Regions from separate parts of the Homo sapiens genome. Here region 1 is linked to region 2. The links are contacts of gene promoters, found by promoter capture Hi-C in human tissues and cell types (Jung and others, 2019). All regions are on one chromosome and are shown on one strand. The core of a region is centred on a gene start or on the middle of the fragment in contact, and the rest is flanking DNA. Distances in the headings are between cores, read along the strand shown. Region 1 overlaps HERC4 (HECT and RLD domain containing E3 ubiquitin protein ligase 4). Region 2 holds the start of DNAJC12 (DnaJ heat shock protein family (Hsp40) member C12).

Evidence for each region. The method cuts DNA at HindIII sites, captures the fragments that hold promoters and counts their contacts. A contact is called where the count stands out against the background at its distance.
Region 1: a contact is called between a fragment that was not itself captured here and the fragment with the promoter of DNAJC12 in region 2, in 2 of the 25 tissues and cell types used here (mesendoderm cells and thymus).

What each region holds. Positions count from the first base shown.
Region 1 is chr10:67,960,121-67,966,302 of GRCh38, reverse strand. The region is part of intron 16 of HERC4 (HECT and RLD domain containing E3 ubiquitin protein ligase 4); the gene reads left to right. It also overlaps the pseudogene RPS3AP38. Among named protein-coding and RNA genes, the nearest start is that of SIRT1, 79 kb to the right of the region's middle. The HindIII fragment of the contact is 5,776 bases long and covers 1-4,410 here.
Region 2 is chr10:67,836,165-67,842,590 of GRCh38, reverse strand. It overlaps DNAJC12 (DnaJ heat shock protein family (Hsp40) member C12), which reads left to right and starts at 4,403. Exons shown (of 5, transcript NM_021800.3): 1 at 4,403-4,657. The coding sequence starts at 4,580. The HindIII fragment of the contact is 7,681 bases long and covers 1-5,442 here.

The DNA.
Region 1 (6,182 bases), core at 273-2,772, 130 kb before region 2:
TGGTGCTTCAAGACTACCAAAAGAGGACTGGGTGTGGTGGCTCATGCCTGTAATCTTAGCACTTTGGAGCCTGAGGCAGGTGGATTCCCTGAGCTCGGGATTTCAAGACCAGCCTCGGCAACATGACGAAATCCCATCTCTACTAAAAATACAAAAAATTAGCCAAGTGTGGTGGCACATGCCTGTAATCCCAGCTACTCAGAAGGCTGAGGCATGAGAATCACTTGAACCTGGGAGATGGAGGTTGCAGTGAGCCGATTATGTGTTTACTTTTATTTCAGATTTTTAATATAAATGTGGGTGCGTACATCTTTTTATGCAGCTAAGTCTTTAATAACTAGACACTATCCCATTAAAATAGTACCATGGTCTTATAAAACTTGAATTAGGCACATAAAATTTTAATGCAGAAATGGGTAAGCAGTTAGATACAAAATATTTAGGTTTACTACTCTTATTTGCTAGCCATTTGTGTATACTTGAGGCCCACTTTTCTGTACCCAGGTAATTTAATATGTGTGCAGCAGTTATATAATAGAAGGGTGAGTAACTTTTCATTGCTTGCTAGGCACCAGCTGTAAGCTCCTTGTGGATGGGTGCTCTTGTCAGTCAACCAGCACCTCTGACAGTGTCTAGAATATGTCTAGTAAGCACTAAAAAAGTACAGTAGTTTTTGAATGGCAATCTGGTTAGTGCACGCTGTTTTTAGGATACTCCCACCTTCCGGAATCAGGTTGCTTCTAGACATCTTTTCCTTCCCTAGTGTACTTGGGTCTGGACTGGGAGAGACTCATTGACTTTTCTCCTGAGTCACTTTGAGGCTGGGTCAGGTTTATAGCCATTCTATAGATTTAGGTCTATTCATTTGCTTATTCAACAAACAATGAGAATCTGTTATATAACAGGCACTGATTTAGGTATTGGAAATACAGTGGTGAACCAGACAGAGCCTTGTTTCTCATGGAATTCGTAATCTACTGGGCAAGATTGGCAATAGTCAAACAAAGCAAAAAATACCAGCTAATAATATGTATTATTAAAATGAGGGGACTTAGTAAAGATAGGTTTCAGAAAAGACTTATCTAATGAAGTATGAGTACTAATCTGAATGACAAGGAGCAGCCCTTTAAGATCAGGGCAGAGAGAATTTCAAGAACAACGAACATTTGGTAAAATACCTGAGGTGAAAACAAGCTTGACATGATTGAAGGACAGAAAAAAGCCAGCATTAGGCCAGGTGTGGTGGCTCACGCCTGGAATCCCTGCATTTTGGGAGGCCGAGGTGGGCAGATCACGAGGTCAGGAGTTCAAGACCAGCCTGACCAACATAGTGAAACCCCGTCTCTACTAAAAATACAAAAACTTAGCCAGGCATGGTGGTGGGCGCCTGTAATCCCAGCTACTTGGAAGGCTGAGGCAGGAGAATTGCTTGAACCCAGGAGGTGGAGGTTGCAGTGAGCTTAGATTGCACCATTGCACTCCAGCATGGGCGACAGTGTGAGACTCCTTTCAAAAAAAAAAAAGAAAGAAAGAAAGAAAGGAAAACAGCCAGCATGGCTTATGGGAGTGAGGAGGGAACAGAGAAATGGGCAGGGGCCAGATCATAGAGAGTTTAGTAAACTAGGATTAGGAATTTGGATTTTATCTAAAGTGTTAATGATAAACAGGGGAAACTTAATCTGATCTTTTTGAATGATCACTTTGTTGGCTGTGTAGGGAACGGGACAGAAATGAAAGACGGAAATCCATGAGAAAGCTATATTTTAGTAGATTAGGGGAGAGGAAATGATGGGTTTGACTAGGATGATGGTTATTTAGATGGAAGAAGGAAATGGAATATGTCTTGGAGATAAAAGGGAATCTTGGAGACAAAAGGAAAATAAAAATCACTGATGGATTGGATATGAAGTGAGGAAAGGAGAGAAATCCACAAAGATTAAAAAGCAGGTGTGGTAGAGGGAAAACTAGGAGAGTCTTGGAAACCAAAATTTAAAAGTGAAAGAGAGACTGTTGAATGCTGCAGAGGAGGAGGATGAAACCTTAGAATTGACAGTGAATTTGGTTACATGAAGGTAATTGGTAACCTTGATAATACCATTCTTGGGTTGGGATGTTGTAAAGAGAAATTTAGAGGTAAGGAAGCAGTAACAACCATTGGCAATACTTTGACGAAGTTCTGCATTGAAGAGGAGCAAAAAAAAAAAAAAAAAATGGAGTGGTAGCTGGAATCAAGGGATAATTTTTTAAGAAAGAAAATAATTGACCTCAGCAGTTTTGAATAAATATTTCCTTTTTTCTTCATCTCTGACCTAGGTAAAGCTTCTCAAACTCTTCCTTTAGAGAACCTGTGATGGCAGGAGAAATAACATATTTCTTAAGGATTTAACCTTCCCTCAGCAAGACTTGAACTGAGGCTAATTTTCTATCTTTAAATGCAAATTTTGCATTATGGGCATAATAGATATTGCAGTATAAAAGAGATTTAATTTATTTGTCATTGAGGAAAATTGATTCTTCAGGAAATGAACCTTGTTCATACCAAGACTTTGCATATAAACCCTCACACACCAACCAGGGTACCCTAGGTCTTTTAGCAGTGTTTTTGAAAGGATTCAGAACATTTGGAGGGATATGTGGACCCTTTTAAAGAAGAACAATTTCTTAAGAAGCCCAGTGTTCACTTACATATTATATAAATATATACACACATTAAACTAGTTCTAAACTCTTGGTGTTTAGCTCTTAAAAGAACTCTAAGACCACAGCAAATTTATAATTATAAATAACATTACAGTCCAGGTGCGGAGGCTCACGTCCCAGCACTTTGGGAGGCCGAGGTGGGCAGATCACCTGAGGTCAGAAGTTCTAGACCAGTCTGGCCAATATGGCGAAACCCCGTCTCTACTAAAAATACAAAAATTAGCCAAGCATCGTGGCGGGCACCTGTAATCCCAGCTACTTAGGAGGCTGAGGCAGGAGAATGGCTTGAACCCGGGAGGTGGAGGTTGCAATGAGTTGAGATCACGCCACTGCACTCCAGCCTGGGCAACAGAGTGAGACTCCATCTCAAAAAATAAATAAATAGTAAATAACATTACAAATTGGCAAATTAAGTTAATTTATTATGGAGAATGTTGTAATGATGAAGAATTCTAACTCACAACATAAATATGTATGATGAGAAAGCAGAGTAACTTTTATGAGAGTGCCTGGATTCAAATCCCACCTCAGCATATATTCAGTTCTGTCCTTGGGAAAATTACTTAATTTCTCTGAGATTTCATTTTGTTTTCTGTAAATTAGGATATTAGTACCTACCTTAAAAAGTTTTGAGAAGATTAATTTATATGATCCCTGTGAAGGACTTAGAGTAATTTCTGGCACACAGTTAAGTCTTTATAAAATGGTGATTATTGTTGCTGGCTACCTTGACACAGGCTACAAATTTGGCAGTAGCTTTTATTCTGACGTGTCTAATAACTCTGTTCTCTTGCTGCCTTTCTCTATGTGCACTATAATGAAACATTTTCTAAGAGCATTTTCTAGGTACTATTCTCAGTTTCCTTATCCTCCTTTAACTTTGCTTTTAAATTGTTTGTAAAAATACCTTATTGGTTACTACCAAACTCTTTGCTATTTTTTCTTCCCTTTCTGATACTTTTAGTTAATTATCTTTATCTGGTTTTCCCTTTGGTGCCTCTCTCTCTTAGAAAAATGATTATACCTAATGTCTAATCATCTCTCTTTTTCTGAAGTTTTTCACGTCCTATTATTTTTCATATTCTTGCCAGTTCACATCTTTCTGTCCCAATTTTTAGTGTAACCAAATTATATTCTGCTTAGTATGGGTTAGTCGCACTATAAATTCTAACATTATCTTACTGACTTCCCCAGTGTATAATGATATGTATAACATCTATATCTACTTACATGTAGTAGTAAAAAAGATAATGCATACATACTAATATTTCATTGTTTAGCTAAGGAGAAAATCGATCTCCCATACTATAAACTCCCTTGGTATATAGTATAGTTATCAAGCAGGCCATAGATAAATTTTTATAGGCTTTTTTTTTTTTGCTTATTTAAACTTTCTTAGTAGTAATAACACTTTTTAAATGTCCTACAAGAGGAATATTGGTGATATGAAGGCTGTGCATATGTGAGGATAAGGGTATATTGGAAGTCTCTGCACCTTACTTTCAATTTTGCTGTGAATCTAAAGCTGCTTTAAAATAATAAAGTTCTTTTTTCAAAAAAAGTCCCACAAGGTATACTATAAAAGGATTTCAGATGTTCCTTTTATATTGCCTTCTAGCTAAACAGAGTGTAATCTGAAAGGTTTTTTTGCAGAACAGTCTCTAAAGACTTTCATCTTGTTTACACTGCCAGTTGGAGCATTTATGTGGTAATAACTTGGTACTGTGAATTTTTTTAAAGAAATTCTTGTCAATAATATTCTTCCTCTGAATAGGGTTTGCATAGAGTGATGTTTTGCTTATGCTTACACTGCTTTGGCTTTACTTAATATAGTGAGAGAACCCAAAGTCTTTGCTAATATCTTAAATCCTCCAATAATATCGCTGGTGACACGTGGGAACTCAGTCAACTACAAAGTTAAAGAGAACAGTTTACACAAGACTGCCCTCACTTCTGATACCAATTGTGAGTTTGGGGAGGGTCCCCCAAACTACCCTTAGGTTTGATAATTTGCTACGAGGCCTCCCAGAACTCACTGAAAATTGTTACACTGATGATTAGGGTTTATTACAGGGAAAGGATAATAGGTTAAAATCAGCCAAGGGTCTTTTTGACTCTCTGAGCAGCACCATGACATTTGGCAAGAACAAGCACCTTATGAAAGGTGACAAATAGGGAGCAAAGAAGTGGTTAATCTACTTTCTAAAAAAGATAGATATGATATGAAAGCACGTGCTGTGTTCAGTATAAGAAATATTGGAGAGAAACACTAGTCACCAGGACTCAAGGAACCAAAATTATATCTGATGGCCTCAAGTGTTGTGTATATTTGAAGTGAACCTTTCTGATCTGCAGAATGATGAAATTGCATTTTAAAAATTCAAGCTGACTACTGAGGATGTTGAGGCGCTAAACGACCTAACTTCCATTGCATGGATCTTACCTGTGACAAAATGAGTTCCATGGCCAAAAACTGGTAGATCATGAAAGAAGCTCATGTTAATGTCAAGACCACTAATGGTTATTTGCTTCATCTGTTCTGTGTTGGTTTTACTAAGAAACGCAATGGTCAGGTACAGAAGACCTCTTACTCTCAGCACCAACAGGTCCGCCAAATCCGCAAGAAAGTGATGAAAATCATGATCCAAGAGGTTCAGACAAGTGACTTGAAAGAAGTGGTCAATAAACATTGGAAAAGATAAAGAAAAGGCTTGCCAGTCTATTTATCCTCTCCATGCTTGTCCTTGTTAGAAAAGTAAAAATGCTGAAGATGCCCAAGTTTGAACTGGGAAAACCAGGGAGCTTCATGGTGAAGGTAGTAGTTCTAGAAAGGCTACTGGGGATGTGACAGGTGCTAAGGTTATATGAGCTGATGGATGTGGACCACAAATCCAAGAATGTGTTTAAAATTTACGCTTTTGGCTGGGTGCGGTGGCTGACGCCTGTAATCCCAGCACTTTGGGAGGCTGAGGTGGGCAGATCACGAGGTCAGGAGTTCGAAACCAGCCTAACCAACATGGAGAAACCCCATCTCTACTAAAAATACAAAATTAGCTAGGCGTGGTGGCACATGCCTATAATCCCAGCTACTCGGGAGGCTGAGGCAGGAGAATCGCTTGAACCCAGGAGGCAGAGGTTGCGGTGAGACGAGATTGCACCATTGCACTCCAGCCTGGGCAACAAGATCGAAGCTCCGTCTCAAAAAAAAAAATTTTAGGCTTTTAATAGTGACAAATAGAAAGTTCCATCTGAGAACAAAAATCAGCCAAGGGAAGAAACACACAGGGCAGAGTCTGGGAAAGATAACCAGAGGCAGAGCTTCTGTTGTCCTTTCCATGTAGAGTCATGGATGAATTACTTTCCTGGCATAGATGTGTAACAATACAGAGTATTTCTAGCCAAAGAAGCTCACCAGAACCCTGGTGCCCAGAGTTTTTACTGGGGTTCAATCACATCCTGCTCCCGTAGTGACCTCTAGTTCC
Region 2 (6,426 bases), core at 3,154-5,653:
TAACACAGGCATCTGCTTTTGGGGATACCTCAGGAAGCTTGCAATCACAGCAGAAGGTGAAGGGGGAGCAGGCATCTCCTATGGTGGGAGCAGGAGCAAGAGAGACAGAGAGTGAAGTGATACACACTTTTGAACAGCCAGATCTCAGAGAAGTCACTCATTTTTGTGAGGACAGCATCAAGAGGATGGTGCTCAACCATTCATGAGAAATCCAGTCCCATGATCTGATCACTTCCCACCAGGCCTTACCTCCAATACTGAGGATTACAATTCAACATGAGATTCAGGCAGGGAGACTTTCCAAACTATGTTAAAGTTCCAACCTCCCATTTCCCCTCTGCACTGCCCTAGTAGAGGCTCTTGGTGAGGGCTCTGTCCCTGTGGTAGGCTTCTTCTTGGGTACCCAGGCTTTCTTATATATTCTCTGAAATCTAGGAGGAAGCTGCCAAACCTCCTTCACTCTTGCATTCTGAACACCTGCAGGCTTAACACCACATGGAAGCCACCCAAGGCTTACAGCCTGCACCCTTCTGAGCTGTGGCCTGAGCTGTACCTGGGCCCCTTTGAGCTGAGGCTGGGGCTGAAGTGGCTGGATGCAGGAAGCAGCCTCCCATAGTGGTACAGGGCAGCAGCACCCTGAGCCTGGCCCCCTAAATCATTCTTTTCTCCTGGGCCTCTAGGCCTGTGATGAGAGGGGCTGCCTCTTAGATCTCTGAAATGCCTTTGAGGTTTTTTTCTCATTGTCTTGTCTATCAGCCTCTGACCTGGCTCCCTTTCATTTATGCAAATCTCTTTAGCAAGTGGTTGCTCTGCAGTCTGCTTAGATTCTTGCCCTGAAAATGGGTTTTTGTTTTCTACCACATGGCTAGGTTGCAAATTTTCCAAACTTTTACATTCTGCTTTCCCTTTAAATATAAGTTCCAACTTTAAGTCATTTCTTTGCTTCTGCATCTGAGGATAGGCTGTTAGAAGCAGCCAGGTCACTTCTTGAACACTTTGCTGCCTAGAAATTTCTTCTGCCAGATACCCTAAGTCATCACTCTTAAGTTCAAACTTCCACAGATTCCTAGGGCATGAATACCATATAGCTTTGTTCCTTGGTAAGGCATAACAAGAGTGACCTTTATTCCAGTTCTCAATAAGTTCCTCATTTCCATCTGAGACCTCATTAGCCTGGACTTCACTGTCCATATCACCGTCAGCATTTTGGTCACAACCATTTAACCAGTCTTGCAGGAGTTCCAAACTTTCCCTCATCTTCCTGTCTTCTTGTGAGCCCTCCAAAGTCTTCCAGCCTCTGCCCATTACCCAGTTTCAAAGCTGCTCCCACTTTGTCAGGTATCTTTATAGCAAGGCCCCACTCTTTGGTACCAATTTTTTGTGTCAGGCCATTCTTGCATTGCTATGAAGGAATACCTAAGACTTGGTAATTTATACTGAAAAGACGTTTAATTGGCTCACAGTTCTGCAGAATGTGGAAGCATGGAGCCAGCATCCGTTCAGCTTCTGGGTAGGCTTCAGGGAGCTTTTACTTATGGCAGAAGGTGAAGTGGGAGTAGACATGTTACATGGTGAGAACAGGAGTAAGAGAGCCAGGGGGAAGATACCACACACTTTAAAAACTTTTAAGCCGGGTACAGTGGCTCACCCCTCTAATCCCAGCACTTTGGGAGGCCACGGCGGGTGGATCACCTGAAGTCTGGAATTTGAAACCAGCCTGACCAACATGGAGAAACCCCATCTCTACTAAAAATTCAAAATTAGTCGGGCATGGTGGCACATGCCTGTAATCCCAGCTACTCAGGAGGCTGAGGCAGGAGAATCACTTGAACCCAGGTGGAGGTTGCGGTGAGCCAAGATCACACCATTGCACTCCAGCCTGGGCAACAAGAGTGAAACTCTGTCTCAAAAAAAAAATTATATTATTAATATAAAAATAAGGACAGAGTCTCACTATGTTGCGCAGGCTGGTTTTGAACTCCTGGGCTCAAACAATCCTCCTGCCTTGGTCTCTCAAAGTGCTGGGATTACAGGCATAAGCCACTGCAACTGGCCAATACCACACTTTTTTGTTTGTTTGTGTTAGACAAGGTCGTGCTCTGTCACCCAGGCTGGAGTGCAGTGGTGTGATCTCAGCTCATTGCAGCCTCCACCTCCTGGGTTCAAGCAATTCTCGTGCCTCAGCCTCCCAAGTAGCTGAAATTACAGGCATGTGCCACCACACCCAGCTAACTTTTTTGTATTTTCAGTAGAGATGAAGTTTTGCCATGTTGGCCAGGCTGGTTTCGAACTCCTGGCCTCAAGTGATCTGCCTGCCTCGGCCTCCCAAAGTTCTGGGATTACAGGTGTGAGCCACCATGCCCAGCCCTAACATTCCATTTGTTTAGTCATCCGTTGATGGACACTTGCATTGCCTCCACTTTTTGGCTATTATGACTAATGCCTTGATGAACATGAGTATATAAATATCTTTTCAAGTTCCTGCTTTCAATTCTTTTGTGTATTTACCCAGAAGTGGAATTGTGGGGTCACATGGTAGTTCTATGTTTAATTTTTTGAGGAACCACCATACTGCTTTCCACCATGGCAACTTCACATCATTAAAAGGCCATTTATCAGTGATTTAGATCAAGATATTGTGATCTAATTTTTTTTTTTTTTTTTGAGATGGACCCTGGCTCTGTCACCCAGGCTGGAGTCCAGTGGCACGATCTCGGCTCGCTGCAACCTCCGCCTCCCAGATTCAAGCAATTCTCCTGCCTCAGCATCCTGAGTAGCTGGGACTACAGGTGCGTGCCACCATGCTTGGCTAATTTTTGTATTTTTAGTAGAGACAGGATTTCATCACATTGGTCAGGCTGGTCTCGAACCCCCGACCTCGTGATCCGCCCGCCTCGGTCTCCCAGTGCTGGGATTATGGCATGAGCCACCGTGCCTGGCCTTAAAATTCTATATAGAACTTTTAGCAAGACAGCATGTACAATGAAGGATTAGTAAAAAATGGTGTTTCAGTGCTTTTTCTTGCTTCTCTTCAGAAATAAACCTTTAAAAAGATGTATATAGGTGGGCTAAAAGAAAAACTATTTTTTCCCCTCAGGTGGGGGAATTTAAAGTGTTAAGGGCCAGGCATGTTGGCTCACATCTGTAATCGCAGCACTTTGGGAGGCCAAAGTGGGAGGATCACTTGAGTCCAGGGGTTTAAGACCAATCTGGGCAATATGGCGAGACCCTGTCTCTCTGAAAAATGAAACAAAAAAAGTGTTAAGGCAGTCAAAGTGTTGTGTCCCTGACCACTCACCTTGTTCTCTAAATCCCAGACCTGAACTGTGTTTCTTAGGGCCAAAATGAACTGAAACATAAATTGCCTGGACCTACCTCAGACTAGAGACACTCCTGAGTCTGGAGAACCAACCCAGGAGAAATAGCACAGCCATCTGACCCGAGTTATCATACAGTTCTTCTCATTGTCCTATTTTATTTTCTCTAAAGCACAAATCACTATTTTATTTTTTTATTTTTTGAGATGGAGTCTTGCTCTGTAGCGCAGTCTGGAGTGCAGTGGCACCATCTCGGCTCACTACAGCCTCTGCCTCCTGGGTCCAAGTGATTCTTCTGCCTCAGCCTCCCAAGTAGCTGGACTACAGGTGTGGGCCACCATGCCTGGCTTACAAATCACTATTTTAAATGATCGTGTTTTTTTTTTTTTTTTTTTTTTTTGCATGTTTTTCAGCTGTCTTCCTCCATCAGAGCGTAAGCTCCATAAAAATCAAGACTGTGTTATTGGCTGGGCGCTGTGGATCATGCCTGTAATCCCAGCACGTTGGGAGGCCGAAGCAGGCAGATCGCTTTGAGCTCACGAGTTCGAGACCAGGCTGGGCAACATGGCAAAACCCCCTCCTCTTAAAACATAACAAAACAAAAACCAAAAATTAGCTGGACATGGTGCTATGTGCCTGTGGTCCCAGCTACTAGGGAGGCTGAGGTGGGAGGATCGCTTGAGCTGGGGAGACAGAGGTTGCAGTGAGCTGAGACTGCACCACTGCACTCCAGCCTGGGCAACAGAGTGAGACCTTGTCTGAAAATAAACAAATAAAAAATAAAATTAAGTATTTTAAACACTAAGAAAAGCTCCCATTATCCTTATTAACACATCCTAAGATTTTACCACATTGCTTCACATTTTTTTTCTTTTTTTTTTTTAAAGGATAGAGACAAAAATATATAGGAGATGGAGAAGTGGCTAATGTGGCAAGTTTCTGAAAATAGACAGTCTTTATTAACTCATAAGACAAATGGTTCACATGCATCTCTTATATAAACTCAAACTACAGATCCCAGGCAGCACTGCAATAATAGACACGTGGACTGTTCTTTTCTTCTCTGTAAACAGCCAATGAGAGGCAGAGTTTACAAAGGTCTAGGATGACATCTGGTGTATTGACTGTGGCCAGTCTTAAAGCTAGTTTTTGCTATGTGGAACATGCTGCTCTAATTCAGATTTAAAGAGTTTCTTCCTGTTAATTCGAAGCTCACTGTGCCTCTTGTTTCCGAGGGAAGAAGGACTGATTAAGTCATCTAAATGGATGCAATACTGAATTACAGGTCAGAAGATACTGAAGATTACTACACATTACTGGGATGTGATGAACTATCTTCGGTAAGACAGTGGATAATATTTTTATCACAACAGTATTCTTTTTCACAATAGTATTTCAAGTTTTTATTTAAGGTTTTAACTTTGAATTTTTAGTCACATTGCCTACAAACCTAACCTTGTGTTGTTTTAAAGCACTTTTGGCTCAGAGAAAGTTAAGAATTTAAATGTATGTTGGGATTTTACTTGAATAGTGTCCTATGGGAATTTTACGGAAGCTTCTGATTAAATATGTGTATTCTGGCACATGGCCATATGCTGTTTCACAATATAGTATATTAAAAATAAATATTTGAAATTTTATTGTAATTTCTGATGGCAGTGTTTCACAGTATATATAAGCTATACCTTTATTATGGTGACTCATAATTGAGGTGAAATGAAATTTCTTATAAAATTAGGGATTTTAATATATTTTATTAAAATGTGTACTCCTATGTGAGCAGTCAAAATAGAAACAAAGAAGCATCCCTTTATGTTAATATTTCAAATTGTGTGACAGAAATTACTTCTTGAAAGGGTGGCTTCTGAAACAAAACATGTGAAAACTCTGTAGCTGTTCACTGGATCTGTAAGAAAACAAAATTTTTAAAGTTCTCAATAAACAATTATAAAGGTTGTAGAGGTTTTTTAAATTATGGAAAAATCATTTATAATTCTCTCTCCCAAGGATAACAGTATTAATATTTTGGCATATTAATCTCCACTATTCTTTCTATGTATATTCTTTAAAGACCTGTTTGGGAGGATATTATATGTACTTGTTGATTCCTGCTTTTTACCCATTCGTATTATAACAAGGAATTTTCCATGCTATTAAACTTTCCTTGTACACTTTTTAGTGGTTGCAAAATATTTTATTTTGCTGTGTTACCACAGTTGAATTATTCTCTTATTGTTAAATATTTTATTTCCAATTTTTCAATATTTCAAATAATGTTGAGATTAATATAAAATATATTCATTATTAAATTATATATTATTAAATCATGTTATTAGGATATATTTATGTTTTATAATTAATGTATTTTATTTTATTTATTTTTATTAAAATCTAAGTAGTAAAATTAACATTGTAAAGCAAAATGTTTTTATATTTATTGTTGTTTCATAAAGGCAGTAGTTCATTAATAAAATGTGCTTAGTTTTGTTTTAAGAATAGAATGCATTACTGGACACAAAGGATTAAAATCTCTATTTTTGCCATGCTGAGGAAGTTATCTTAGACACGTTGAAATTAAAAAAACTGCCCCGCCCCCAGAATAGCTTATAATGGTCTTTTAGTTGCATATTTCTTCTCAAGAATGTGTTATTCTTGTTTATGTTGGTGGTGATTTGCTTATAGCAATTGAGAAAGCTTATTACCATTTTTACCATGTGTTATTCACAGTTGAAATTATACTATTATCAAACAATTTTTGAAGGAATAATTTAAAATCAAAGGAATATAATTTAACTTGATAAGGCTGACAATTTGGATTTAAAAAAATACATGCTAGCTTATACAGTAAGGGTCATTATATCTCCATAATCTTGTGACCTATTTAGTCAGTCCTTTTTTTTTTTTTTCAATTTTACTTTAAGTTCTGGGATCCCTGTGCAGAATGTGCAGGTTTGTTACATAGATACACATGTGCCAGGGTGGTTTGCTGCACCTATCAACCCATCATCTAGGTTTTAAGCCCCGCATACATTAGGTATTTGTCCTAATGCTGTCCCTCCCCTTCTCCCCCACCCCCCGACAGGCCCCGGTGTGTGATGTTCCCCTGCCT